3 separate regions of the Homo sapiens genome follow, and regions 1 and 2 are each linked to region 3. Evidence: promoter capture Hi-C in 16 types of primary human blood cells and fetal thymus (Javierre and others, 2016). All regions are on one chromosome and are shown on one strand. The core of a region is centred on a gene start or on the middle of the fragment in contact, and the rest is flanking DNA. Distances in the headings are between cores, read along the strand shown. Region 1 overlaps ABCC4 (ATP binding cassette subfamily C member 4 (PEL blood group)). Region 2 has its middle 28 kb from the start of LINC00557. Region 3 holds the start of SOX21 (SRY-box transcription factor 21).

Region 1 (4,641 bases), core at 976-3,475, 460 kb before region 3:
CACCCATGCTGGGCTGAGTGAGAGAGAGACAAGTTCAGATTTCATTCTTGCCCATAAGGAATTTGTCTCTGCATGGATCAAGACTAAGTGCATGGGAAAAGTTCAACAGACCCCAAGGCTTAGGGGATTTCAATATAGGACAATCTATTTTATTATTATTTTTTTTTTAGATAGGATCTCGCTCTGTTGCCCAGGCTGGAGTGCAGTGGTGCATTCTCAGCTCACTGCAGCCTCGACCTCCTGGGTTCAAGAGATTCTCCTGCCTCAGCCTCCCGGGTAGCTGTGACTACAGGCTAGCACCACCATGCCCAGCTCATTCAGTGTTTTTTTGAAGAGAGGGGGCTTTGCCATGTTGTCTAGGCTGGTCTCCCTATGTTGCCCAGGCTGGTCTCGAACTCCTGGGCTCAAGGGATCCACCCCCCCCCCCCCCCCCCCCCTGCCCTCGGCTTCCTGGAGTGCTGAGATTACAGGTGTGAGCCCCTACACCTGGCATACGACAATCTTTTTTTTTAAATGGAAGAAGTGGGCAGCAGAGATTGGAAAGGTCACTGAGGGCCGGGCTTGGCTGGAAGTAGCCTGTGGTCCTGCAGGCTGGTAAGGGTTTGTGGTGGCTGAGAGTAGGATTCAATTCCTTTGAAAGAAATAGTAGAAGCAGAGGTGTGCAGACGGGAAGGAGTGAGGCCTGTGGGAAGGACAGCAGGCAGGCACCTGTTCCTGTGGTGGGGGATAGAGAAGGTACCGTGAGAGAAAGCTCTGGAAGTCCTGTGTTGGCCAGCCAGGGCTGCCCTCACAAAATGCCACAGGCTGGGGGGCTTCCACAGCGGCAGGTTGTTTCTGCAGAGTTCTGGAGACTGCATGTGTGAGATCAATGCATCTGCAGGTGCAGCTCCTCCCGAGGGCTTTCTTGGCCTGCTGATGGCTGCCTTCTCACCCTTTTCTCCTTGTGTCTCTGTATCCAAATCTCCTCTTCCTGAAAAGACACCAGTCAGATTAGAGTAGGGCCCACCCTCATGGCCTCATTTTAGTGTAATTACTTCTCTAAAGGTTCTGTGTTGGCCGGGCACTGTGGCCCATGCCTGTAATCCCAGCACTTTGGGAAGCCGAGGCAGGCAGATCACCTGAGGAGTTCGAGACCAGCCTGGCCAACGTTGTGAAACCCCATCTCTACTAAAAATACAAAAATCAGTGGTGGATGGTGGCGGGTGCCTGTAATCCCAGCTACTCTGGAGGCTGAGGCAGGAGAATTGCTTGAACCCAGGAGGTGGAGGTTGCAGTGAGCCGAGATAGCGCCATTGCACTCCAGCCTGGATGACGAGTGAGATTCTGTCTCAAAAATAATAATAATAAAAAAAAAATTTTAAAAAAGGTTCTCTGTTCAATTTCTAAGGTGCTAGGGTGAGGGCTGGAACATAGGAACTTTGAGGGGAGCATGGTTCAGTCCATAACAAGTCCTGGATAGCAAAGTGGATAGCGAGTCGGCTGTGTGAGAGTAACTCATCTCTGGGCTCTGGATTCCAGGGGTTTGGACATGAAGTCATCCACTGAGCATGGGGCTCTACGTGGGTTCCTGAACGTTTACCCACCAGAGTGCGTATGCAAAATGTGCCTGGTATGGGATGATGAAGTGGATGTGTATGATGGTGATGGTTGCACAATGGTGTGTATGTACTTAGCGCGACCAAGCTATACAATTAAAAATGGTGTAAATGGTAAATGTTATGTCTTGTCTATTTTTCCACAACCAAAAAAAACGTGGATGGCAGCATTGAATCTTTCTGAATGCAGAGTGCAGGATAAGCTGGCACTTGGCATTGCCGCAGCAGTCTGATCAGAGCCTCGTTTCCTGCTCCCTCCTCATTGTGCCTTGATGAATTTTCCATTTCGCCGAGAAGGGCCTCTGTGGCTTGCTTGAGTCTTGCGCGAGGCCCCACCAGTTCTTTATCACTCAAACAACAATTCCCGGTGGGACGCTGTTTAGAGTCGCCGCGGGGAAGGAGGAAGGTATTTTCATTGCTGAGTATCAGTGTGCGTATCGCACAAGCTCCCTCAGATTTTCATTTGAACACAGGAGGTATTTATAAAGTCCTCTTGCACCTTTAAGGATTAATGACTTTGGATATATGCTTGTTAGAAGCAAGCTTGTTAAAATTGTTGTTTGCTAATCAGAATCACATTCTTTGGGGAAACTTAGGGCAGGGAGCACGAATGCAATTTAGGAAATCACTCAGCAGCAACTGGAGAATGTTCTCAACGAGTTAGAAAATTGGATTGAACAATATGCTATGAAAGATGGCGGTTGTGTTGAAGCTTAGAAATGTGAAGTGTTTTGTATTAAAAGTGAATGAATTACGCTTCTATTTGCCATTAACAGTTTTACTTCAATCATGAATATATATCGAGAGTTGTTAAGAGTTGTGTTTTACAACTATATGTTGCAAACACTAAGTGGATTTTATCACATACAAAAAGTGAGGGTCACTTAGATTAAAGGATGCTAATCCAATTTGTTGCCTGCTATAGATGTGGTTGTGTTCTAGAAAGCCTCAAATTCTCAGACCCCTGCCTCTTTGAGTCTCCTAATCAGATCTCCCACACTGTTGCCTACCTATTTGTCTTAGTCCATTCAGGCTGCTGATTCAAAATAGCATAAACTAGGTACTCCATATAAACAATAGAAAATTGTTTCTACAGTTCTGGAGGACAAGATTCAAGATCAAGGCGCCAGCAGTTTTGGTGCCTGGAGAGGGCTCACGCTCTGGTTCATAGACAGCTGTCTTGTCACTGTGGAAGGGGTACGGCAGCTTCCCTGGGCTGGCCCCTTCTACTAATACCATTTGTGTTGGCAGATTCTCATGAAATAGGCCTCACCTCCTAATACCATTACATTGGTGATTAGGGTTCAGTAGGAATTTGGGGAGGGCCACAAACATTCAGGCACAGCACTAGTTCACCTTCCCTCTTTCAGGTCCTCTAGGACTCCCCTACTTTTAAGCTACAGTTCTAAGTCCTCGAATGGCAAATTGCCCTTTGCAGTCTGCCCCATTCACCTTTCCAACCCTTGCCATGCAAGACCAGTCCTCCAGCCATGCACACTTCTTTGGGGTGCCTGGAAGGAGGTGTGAATTTCTCACGTCTGCCTGTCTGTAAGGGTATTTTTCCTGCCGTTGGACAACCAGGGATAGTTTGCCTGGGCAAAAGAGAAAAATGAAAGACACAGATCCTACCTCCTGCCTTTCTCTTCTGCTCCTCGGAGGGCATGGCGCTTTCTCTGTCTTCCCACAGCCCTCAATGAGCTGCTCTTGATCCACCTATGTGTTCTTCCCTCCAGCCCCCGCACTAGACTGCGAATGCATGAAGGTGCCTTTGCACAGCGCATTTGTGCCCCGGGACCATTGCACCTGCTGTATCTGCCAGGAATGCTTCCCCCAGATAGTCTCATGGCTCATACATCACCTCCTTGCAGAGAGGACTTTCCTGGCCACTCCCTCTAAAGTACAACCTTTGCCTGGCTGTCTCTTCATGGTTTACTTTACTATCCAATAGTGTGTTTTCTGTGTTTGTGTAGTGAGTGTCCCTACACGACTCAGGGTGTTGTCTGTTTGCTTGACCAGTGGATGTATCCTCATCACTTAGAGTAGTCCCTGGTACTTCGTCAGTGCTCAGCAAATGTATCTTAACTGAATGAATGAAGGTAGTGACTGTATCTGTCCCTCTCTCCCTCCCTCCATCCCTTCCTTCCTTTTTTGACAGAGTTTTGCCCTGTCACCCAGGCTGAAGTGCAATGGCATGATCACGGCCCACTGCAACTTCTACCTCCTGGGCTCAAGTGATCCTCCCGAGTAGCTGGGACTACAAGTGCACACCACCACTCCTGGCTAAGTTTCGTGTTTTTTTGTAGAGATGGGATCTCTCCATGTTGCCCAGACTGGCCTTTAACTCCTGGGTTCAAAAGATCCTCCTGCCTTAACCTCCCAAAGTGCTGGGATTATAGGTGTGAGCCACTGCACCAACTGACTATATCTTTCTCACTTGTGTCACCTCCAACATTGTATGTGTCAGCTCTTAATGTTGTCTTTTTTTTTTTTTTTTCCTTTTTGAGGCAGAGTCTCGCTCTGTTGCCCAGGCTGGAGTGCAGTGGCATGATCTTGGATCACTGCAGGCCTCCTGGGTTCCAGCAATTCTTGTGCCTCAGCCAGCCGAGTAGCTGGGATTACAGGCATGGGTGACCACATCCAGCTAATTTTTGTATTTTTAGTGGAGATGGGATTTCACCGTGTTGCTTGAACTCCCGACCTCAAGTGATCTGTCTGCCTCAGCCTTCCAAAGTGCTGGAATTATAGGCGTGAGCCCCCGTGGCTGGCCTCTTAATGTAGTCTTTATGTAGGATTAGAGTTAAATAGCTCATTGCTACATCAATCACTTATTATTTGTTTGTTTTATGGCATGACTGGAAGATTTTTACTCTTAATAATTTGGAAAGTATTTTTTGAGATTTGCCTAAGAAGCATAATTTAGAAAAAATTTCAAGCCATCAATTACAATGTTAGTGTAATTATTTCTATTATCTCATCTACAATGGAAGATGTTAGGAAGAAAACATTTTGAAACCTTTGAGTTGGCTGATACTGGACATAGCACCCA
Region 2 (4,842 bases), core at 954-3,453, 280 kb before region 3:
AATTGTTACAGCAGCCTTAGGAAACTCAAAGTGTTCCATGACTGCTAGCGTGCTTCATGATCAAGACAGAAGAGGAAGCCCAGAAAGGAAGCTTAGGGATCATTTTCAGGCAGAAGCAGAGCCCTTTTGTGGTGGGTCTAAAGATGTGTCTGCAGCGGAATGAACACTCAAACACAGAGAAGAGCAAACCGTCCACTCAAGAAGTTGGAGTGGGGGTGCTAGAAGGCTTCCTCTGGGCTTTCTGTTATAGAGAGACTGGGATGGGATGTAGAAGTGTGATCCACAATAAAATATCCATAGGTACCCCCCCAGAGTGGCTAAAGACTGAATATACCCAGTGATGGCAGGGATGTGGAGCAACCGGAACTCTCAACCACTGCTGTGCCTATGTAAAATGGAAAACAGTTTGGTATTTAGTTAAAAAGTTAAACATACACCTAACAGGTATGGAACTCAGCTATTCCACTCCTAGCTATTTACCCAAGATAAATAAAAACATTTGTCCACACAAAGACTTGTAATGAATTGTTACAGCAGCTTAATTTGTAATACCTTCAAAATATTATAGATCATTAATTAATGGATCAATGGAATACTGATCAACGGAATGCTGATGATCAATCAGAAGAAACCACCAACTGATACCCTTAACAACTTGAATGAATATCAAAGCCATTATTCTGAGTTAAAGAAACCAGACATAGAATACATACTATGTAATTCCACTTGTATACATATTTAGAAAATGAAAAAGAATCTATAGTGACAGAAAGCAGATGAATGGTTGCCTGGGGGTGGTGGAAGGGTTTAGACAGAGTTGAAGGGAAAGGGCACAAGGAAACTTGGAATGACGAAAATGTTGGTATCTTAATAGTGGCTGTGGTTTCATGGGTGTATAAACAAATCAAAACTTCAAAATGCATGTTTCAAAATGCATATTTTAAATATGTGCAGTTTATTTCATTTATGCCTCAACATAGTTGTTAAGGTAGATTCTAGTGGGAATATGCTGTATTTACTGAAAGGGGTGATCCAGGAAAGGTGTTCTAGATCAGCATTTGCAGAGAAATAGAGTTCATACATATTTCATAATAGTGATTTAAATGAGTAGCTGAGTGGTGCAGTGAAGCATAGGGTTTCCCCATTTTAATTAGGCTCTTTCATTTCTTAGGGTCAGGAGCCTTCTTGTACTGTGCACGCACAAGTGAGCTTGTTGCTCAAGTCTGCTCCCTGGTGCTGGGAGAGGATCTTTGTTGGTTGGTGTTAGGGAGAGCTTCTCTCTGTTGTGCCTTTTAATCACTCTTCTTTTCCATGGCTCAGACTGAACACTGGGTGGAGAAAGCCCTCCTGCCTCCAATGACCCGACTACTTCATACCCTCCCAGTCTCCCTGCAAAAGAAAGCTCAGGAGAGCACCACTCGTGCCCTCACTCCAACTCCTCCAGTGGATGGTTTGCTTGTCTCTGGTTTTGAGTGTTTATTCTGCTCTAGAAACATCTTCAGACCCACAGCAAAAGGGCTTTGGCTTAACTATCTTTGAATATGGCAGAAGAGTTGTTTTCACTTTTCCACCTTAAAAGTGTGTATATCTCTAAAGGTTTTAAAATATTGGAGAGTAGGAATAGGGGAAACAATTTTTGCTAGCCTCACCATTCAAATATAAGTGCAAATAACTTTCTAATTTTTTTCCACTTTTTGTTTCTATGTAAAGGCTTTTAATAGCATTGCCATTAAGCTATACATGCAGCTTTATTTCCTGCTTCTTCCCGTATTGTTACTCCCTGGCCACTCTTCTATGTTATTACACAAGCTTCATAAATATTATCTTTAATGGCTGCGTAATACTCCATTGAGTGGATATGTCATTGTTAATCATGGCCCTATTAGCAGAGAGTTTAAAACACAGTTAGAAGGGTGACTTCACACAAGACAGATTTTACTCAAGATATAAAAGGAGGACTGACCTATGGAAAGATCCCTGGACTTGGTGTGGGCCTGAGATTTTGGTTCAAGCTGACTTACTAGCTGTTGACTTTTAACATGTGTCATTGCTTAACTATGGCCTCTGCTTACTCACCTATAAATCACAGATCTAGTTAGCTGTTTACTGTTCCTTCCAGCTTTTAAAGTCTGGGATTCTATGATCTACTAAACTGAAGTGCCTGATTTGGCCATCTAGGCTTTTAATGAATCCATTCATTCCTCAAACACCTGAAAAATAGTATGTACCTAAAAAGTTATTTATTTATTTATTTATTTGAGACAGAGTTTCACCCTTGTTGCCCAGGCTGGAGTGCTATGGCGCGATCTCGGCTTGCTGCAACCTCCACCTCCCAGGTTCAAGCAATTCTCCTGTCTCAGCTTCCCAAGTAGCTGCGATTACAGGCATGCACCACCACACCTGGCTAATTTTGTATTTTAGCAGAGATGGGGTTTCGCCATGTTGGCCAGAAATGTGAGAGAATAAATTTCCGTTGTTTCAAGCCATCAGATTCATGATCAATTGTTACAGTACCCTTAGGAAACTCATAAAGTGTTCCAGGACTGCTAGCTTGCTTCATGATCAGGACAGAAGGGGAAGACCAGAAAGGAAGCTTAGGGATCATTTTCAGGCAGAAGCAGAACCCTTTTGCAGTGGCCCAAACAACCCTAATCAACCAACTGTGGGAACTGTACTTATTATGATGACTGAATGGAAAATGATTATGTGCAAACGTTTTTCCAGGCCACACCCTCTACCTGGTGGGCATTTGAGGACAGAGTTACAGTGCGGAATGGACAGAGTTACAGTGCGGAATCTCTTGGCAAGCCTCCATTCAAAGTTTCTGGGACTCAATCATTCATACAGGAGAGGACTGCCCTCTCTCAGCACATCTACCTGCCTTGGCCTCCCAGAGTGCTGAGATTACAGGCATAAGCCACTGCGCCCGGCCAAAAGTTATTTTATATTGATTTGAATAGAAATAATCTGAATTAAATTGAGCCTCTTTCAGTAGACCTCTTCAGGAGGAAAACAATTTAATTCCTGTATTTATAGAAGTAAGTGTTTAGAAAGATCTGACTTGTTTCCTGCACATTCACCCAAGATAGTTTTAATTCATTCCATGTCACACCGTTGAAAACGGCCAAAGTCAAGACAGCAAGTTCTGTGAAAAGATCAAGCAACATCAAAGACCAGGTTGGCCAGGTGTGGTGGCTCTTGCTTATAATCTCAGCACTTTGGGAGGCTGAGGCGGGCAGATTGCTTGAGGCTAGGAGTTTGAGACCAGCCTGAACAACATAGCAAGACCCTGTCTCTAAAAAAAATAAAAATAAAAAAAAAAAAGCTGGATGTAGTGCATGCACCTGTAGTCCCAGCTGTTTGTTTTGGGAGGCTAAGGTGAGAGGATTGCTGGAGCCCAGGAGATTGAGGCTGCAGTGAGCTGTGATCACACCACTGCACTCCAGCCCTCCTGTCTGGGTGACAGAGCCCGACACTGGCAAAATATACATCTTATTAACATCTTCAATTAAACTGAATCTTTAGGCTTAGGAGGGCTCCTATGAATTACGTGGAGATCACTGGGTTCATTCCACACTTAACACTAAATTTGCAAGATAGTACGCCTCCAAAAAGAATAGAAGAGACTCCTGCCTGGATATTGGAAGCCTGATAAACAACTCCATTAATTAAAAGGTGTAGGTAATTAGCATGCATTATTACTATTACTTCCTATTCTATCTTTTTAAAATTTTTATTTATTTATTTATTTGCGACAGGGTCTCACTCTCTCACCCAGGCTGGAGTGCAGTGCCCCATCTCGGCTCACTGCAACCTCTGCCTCCCGGGTTCAAGTGATTCTCCTGCCTCAGCCTCCCAGGTAGCTGGGATTACAGGCCCCCACCACCATGTCCAGCTAATTTTTGTAGTTTTAGTAGAGACAGGGTTTTACCACGTTGGCCAGGCTGGTCTCGAACCCCTGACCTCAGGTTATCCACCCATCTTGGCCTCCCAAAGTGCTAGGATTACAGGTGTGAGCCACCATGCCCAGCCCTATCTTTTTATTTTTAATTTTTTAACAAATATTGTATATATTTGAGGTTTAGAACATGATGTTAAAATATACTTATTTAACAAAAATCCCTAACACAATATAATTGTATAACCTGGCTTCATCTTGCCAGGTTATACTTTCTGCTTCATCTGAGCTTTTTGTTTATTTTTTTAAACAGTAGTTTCTATTTGATATTTATTGAATAGTGTTATTAGAGAATAAGGGTAATCTCTATATAAGAACAAATCCAATCTTAATAGCATAATCACAACTTATAGAAATTTAAGATCCAGGGTAAATAATGCTTCAAAAGCAAAAACGTTAGTGTTAGAAATATAATACAATATAACTGTATTAACTTTAGTGCTGATGTGGTACATTAGGCTTCTAAACTTGTTTATCTTACATATCTGCTATTTTGTATCCTTTAAACTAGATCTCTCATTTCCTTCCTGTCCCTACCTGACACCCCTCTCATGATAACAACTCTCTCTCTCTCTGTGCATTTGAGTGCTTTAAAAAATATATATATTCCACATATAAGTGAGATAATGCAATATTTTTCTTTCTGTGTCTGATTTATTTCACTTAACATAATGTCCTCCAGATCCATCCATGTGGTGGCAAATGGCAGACTCTCCTTTTTTGAAGCTGAATAATATTCCATTGTGCATATATACCACATTTAAAAATCTTCGCATCTATACAGATGGCTATTCTCAAAAAGACAAGAGATAACAAATGGTGAGGGTCTGGAGAAAAGGGAACCCTAATACACTGTTGAGGGGAACATAGATTGCTGCATCCGT
Region 3 (4,467 bases), core at 982-3,481:
AGTTTTGTTATCACGACTGTAATTTTTAAGTCACTATTCTTTTATTAAAATGAACAAAACAAGCCTAACTTTTACATAAATCTGATGGCCTGAAACAGTTTTAATTCACGTTCATAATTACAATCAAAGCTTTTGTGTGTGTGTGTGTGTGTGTGTGTGTGTGTGTGTGAATGAACTGAACATAAATCGTAGGAAGACTTAAAGAGTTAACCGTTTGTAGATGTTCCTACTTGCACATACCACAGGGCTAGGTCAAATCCAAACTGCCAAAGAAAGAAGGCAAGCAAGTTCTCCCTGAAGGGCAGGCCACCATGTGAATAAAACCTCCAGACAGATCATGTTCTAAATGTGCCGCAGCATACCAAAAAGTGAGGAAAATACGGAAACAGAATCATGCTGTTTGACTTCTGCATCGTGTTAACTATTTTTTTTAAAAAACTGCTCTAACTACTAAAGAAGGAAATTATGCTTAGCATAAAAATATTCCAGCACTGAGTGATTGGTACGTTTTACTTCTCTCTTCCAGGGAAACTACTTACACTTATTGATTTTAAACACCTTCACCTCAGCAGCGCATGTAAGTGAGACACTGTAAGTTAACTGTACCTTAAAGAGATCAGTATATAGATGGTTCTGGCGACCAAGATTACAACAAAAGACAAACAACACAGAATTTTTAAAGAGCTGAATAGTCAGTCAAGGATGCATACTCTCAGTCTGGGCTAGCTCTTTTTTGGAAAGGTTGCCAAGAATGTCCTTATTCCCTCCAGAGTTATTTTTCACTCCACTACCTCTGACTAGGTGCATCGCCAGTGCAAGAAAATGCGAGAAGCCTCTGTTTCTGTTGCAAGCAACACCTGGACCTCCAAGGAAAATGAGCACTTTCTTGCTAGGAACAGTCTCAAACATTTTCAAGGGTGAGTCTCCCCTTCTCCAGGTTTAACCCTCTTCCTCCGTAGCTGGAGAGGCTCTCCTACTCGTGCCCGCCGCCTTCTTCCTCCCGGCGAGGATTCCAGGGCCACAACCAGGGCAGCTGCACGCCAGGCCGGCCTGGGTAGCCGGGATGACACCAGGGTTTGCCAACGCCAAACAGGGCGCAGACTCCCCGGCGCGCTCCGGACTCTCCACTCGCCTAAACCTGCTCTCAAGTGAAAAGGAGTGGGAGGAGGAGGATTGGGAGGGGGCGGGGGGCGGAGGGGATCTGTTAATTCGAGGTCCTGGGGGTGTGGGAGCGGGAGGCGGCTCCGCTGATCCCTCCTCCCTCCCCGAGTCCTGGGCTCCACCTCCTCCGCAGGCCCCCAGATATACACACACAGCCGCGGCTGGACATGCACACCCAGTGCCGGCTCCGGGCGCGCACACATGCAGGTAGCCACACTCACCTGAGCCGGTGCAGAGGGCGGCCTGGGCTGGGAAGGGGCCCCCTGCGCCGCGGGAGTGGGGAGAGCGGGAGGTGCCACAGCGCGGACCTGCGAACTGAGGTGATGGCCCGTTTTCCTTAACTCTCCTGCAGCACCTCCGCCCCTGCGCCGGCTCGGCTCTGGCCACAGCAGCGAGGACAGAGGGGCCCCGGGCGCGGCGGACTCGCGGGCGCACGCTCCCAGGAGCGCGCCGAGAGGGGCGCCGCGGCGCAGGAAACTTGGGCGAAGTTAGTTGCAAGTGCCAGGCGGCTGCCGAGAAGAGCGAGGCGGGGACGCGGCCGGTGCCAGGCCTGCGGCGCCGCGTGGAGGCTGCGCTGCCCTCCGCGGCCGGCGAGCTCCGGGAGCCCTAAGTCGGCAGGCGCGCCTGAAGGGGCTCGGAGCGAACAGAGCCGGCATGGCCCAGGGGACGGCCGGACGCGGCTCCTCGGCGAGCCGGGAGAACTTCCTCTGAGGCCGGGCGACCAACGCTTGCTCAAGCCTCATCCACCCTCCTTCCTCGCCCCACCCGTCAGTCCAGCAGCGGGAGAGGAAGACTCGAGAGGCAGGTGCTGCGGGGGACAGCTCCCCCCTCCAAAAAAAAAAAATCACCCAGCCGATTGGGGGTTTCCCATCGGCGCACCCTGCCCGGAGCCAAGAAGACAGGCTGGTGCTGCTGTATTTGTATTTATATCCATTGCTGCGCTCTGCGTTCTCGTGGCACGCCTGGACACTCCTCCGCCTCCCCCTCCTCTTCCTCCTCCAGGGCCACCTCCCCGCCTTCCCCACCCCCATCTGCTTCTGTCAAATGAGAAAGTCACCGAGGAGAACCCAAACACTCCAGCCGCTGAGAGCCCCCTTTGGCACTTGGCAGCACGCGGCGGCGGGCTCCTCGGCTCAACTTCGAGGAGTCTCCGCGACGCAACTTTTGGGGACGCTTTGCATTTAAGAGAGAACGACCGAGGAGGAGGAGCGCTCTGCCCGGCCGCCGCTACCTGCGGGGAGCTCACCAGCAAACGCCACTGCAGACGAAGGACCCAAAGAACGTAAAGGGCAAACTGCCGCCGCGGGGAGGGGGCACCGCCGAGAAGTTAGAGTGTCCCAGAGACAACCTGCTCGAGCGCTCGGCCGGAGACACTAAGGCGGCCCGGGGCGCGGCGTGGCCCTGGGCTGGTCCCCCAGCCCCCTCCTCCGGGGCGGGAGCGACGCCGGGGCGCGACGAGCCCCGGCCGGCCGAGCGGGTCTCCGCGGGCAGCCAACATTGATTTCCTCCGGGCCGAGGGCGAGGGCCCGGGAGGCGGCGGGCTGCAGCCGCGGCAGGGCGAGAGCATGTCCAAGCCGGTGGACCACGTCAAGCGGCCCATGAACGCCTTCATGGTGTGGTCGCGGGCTCAGCGGCGCAAGATGGCCCAGGAGAACCCCAAGATGCACAACTCGGAGATCAGCAAGCGCTTGGGCGCCGAGTGGAAACTGCTCACAGAGTCGGAGAAGCGGCCGTTCATCGACGAGGCCAAGCGTCTACGCGCCATGCACATGAAGGAGCACCCCGACTACAAGTACCGGCCGCGGCGCAAGCCCAAGACGCTGCTCAAGAAGGACAAGTTCGCCTTCCCGGTGCCCTACGGCCTGGGCGGCGTGGCGGACGCCGAGCACCCTGCGCTCAAGGCGGGCGCCGGGCTGCACGCGGGGGCGGGCGGCGGCCTGGTGCCTGAGTCGCTGCTCGCCAATCCCGAGAAGGCGGCCGCGGCCGCCGCCGCTGCCGCCGCACGCGTCTTCTTCCCGCAGTCGGCCGCTGCCGCCGCCGCTGCCGCCGCCGCCGCCGCCGCGGGCAGCCCCTACTCGCTGCTCGACCTGGGCTCCAAAATGGCAGAGATCTCGTCGTCCTCGTCCGGCCTCCCGTACGCGTCGTCGCTGGGCTACCCGACCGCGGGCGCGGGCGCCTTCCACGGCGCGGCGGCGGCGGCTGCAGCGGCGGCCGCCGCCGCCGGGGGGCACACGCACTCGCACCCCAGCCCGGGCAACCCGGGCTACATGATCCCGTGCAACTGCAGCGCGTGGCCCAGCCCCGGGCTGCAGCCGCCGCTCGCCTACATCCTGCTGCCGGGCATGGGCAAGCCCCAGCTGGACCCCTACCCCGCGGCCTACGCTGCCGCGCTATGACCCCGCGGGGCCGCCTCGCGAGGACCGGTGTGCACACGTGTACATATGTATAGGTACGAGCGCTGCGGCCTCCCCGTGCGCCCTCCCGCGACCGGGGGCCCGGTTTGTATGTACATAGAATGTATAGGTGCCAGGTAGAGGCAGAGAGGCCAGGCGGGGCAGGAGTGGCCAAGCGCGCAAGGGCGCGGGCGAGCAGGCCTGTGAATTCGCAGGATCATTTCAGACCCGCACTTCGGCAGCCAACTCGAAAGCAGGCGGTTGTGTGCGGCAGCAGTTGGCGTTTGCTTTGCACTTCGGAACCTGTTGCGTTTTGACCCACGGAGGTGGAGGAGTAACTTTTTGACATGTTGGCCTTTCCAGTTTTGTTGGAAGTTTCATGGTCGGTTTTGTTTTTGTTTCTCATTCTTCTTCCTCGCCCCTCAGCCCCCCAACCCCCAACCCCCTCCCGGTCCGTGTTGCATGCACGCTGTTCAAATGTGAGGTCTGAAATGGCTGGCACACGGGAAAAGCTGCTTGTGTCATTCGTTTCTGGGAGTGGGATGGCTCTGAGCAGCCTCGCCTCCCTGTTTGTACTATTTGAACTTTGCAGATCTCTGTTCTCTCAAGCAGAACTCCCAACCAGATCCATTCTTGACCAGTGACCGGCTCGAATCTGGCCTTTTGTGTGAGATGATCACGGTTTCTTTTGTTTATCACGCCATTTGCAAATCAGAGCAAGAGCTCTTTCTCAAGGGCAAGAAACGCAAACAAGAAATATTTGTGAGATGAAAGTTGTCAATTGGATTTTCTTCCTAAACAAACAACAACAACAAACTACTAGAAGTCTCCCTGAGTCCACTCGCTTGGATTTCTGACACAGTTTACAAAAAAGGAAAAAGGCACTGCTCCTATTTTCCCTTATGGCTGAGTT

The links. Contacts are between HindIII fragments. The CHiCAGO score rates a contact against its expected background, and 5 or more counts as called.
Region 1: a contact is called between a fragment that was not itself captured here and the fragment with the promoter of SOX21 in region 3, in 1 of 17 cell types (endothelial precursors). The highest score is 6.8, in endothelial precursors.
Region 2: a fragment that was not itself captured here is called in contact with the fragment with the promoter of SOX21 in region 3 in 1 of 17 cell types (endothelial precursors); the score reaches 5.3 in endothelial precursors.

The regions. Positions count from the first base shown.
Region 1 is chr13:95,172,021-95,176,661 of GRCh38, reverse strand. The region is part of intron 13 of ABCC4 (ATP binding cassette subfamily C member 4 (PEL blood group)); the gene reads left to right. Among named protein-coding and RNA genes, the nearest start is that of SNORD13G, 36 kb to the left of the region's middle. RefSeq lists an enhancer at 1,718-2,219. The HindIII fragment of the contact is 169 bases long and covers 2,141-2,309 here.
Region 2 is chr13:94,985,242-94,990,083 of GRCh38, reverse strand. No RefSeq gene overlaps it. Among named protein-coding and RNA genes, the nearest start is that of LINC00557, 28 kb to the right of the region's middle. The HindIII fragment of the contact is 784 bases long and covers 1,812-2,595 here.
Region 3 is chr13:94,710,309-94,714,775 of GRCh38, reverse strand. It overlaps SOX21 (SRY-box transcription factor 21), which reads left to right and starts at 2,231. Exons shown (of 1, transcript NM_007084.4): 1 at 2,231-4,467. The coding sequence starts at 2,727. The coding sequence ends at 3,557. SOX21-AS1 (SOX21 antisense RNA 1) reads right to left here and starts at 2,060. Exons shown (of 2, transcript NR_046514.1): 1 at 1,383-2,060; 2 at 1-1,138. It overlaps LOC112268114 (a long non-coding RNA gene), which reads left to right and starts at 1,333. Exons shown (of 2, transcript NR_158368.1): 1 at 1,333-1,368; 2 at 1,514-2,056. RefSeq lists an enhancer at 1,006-1,507. The HindIII fragment of the contact is 9,809 bases long and covers 132-4,467 here.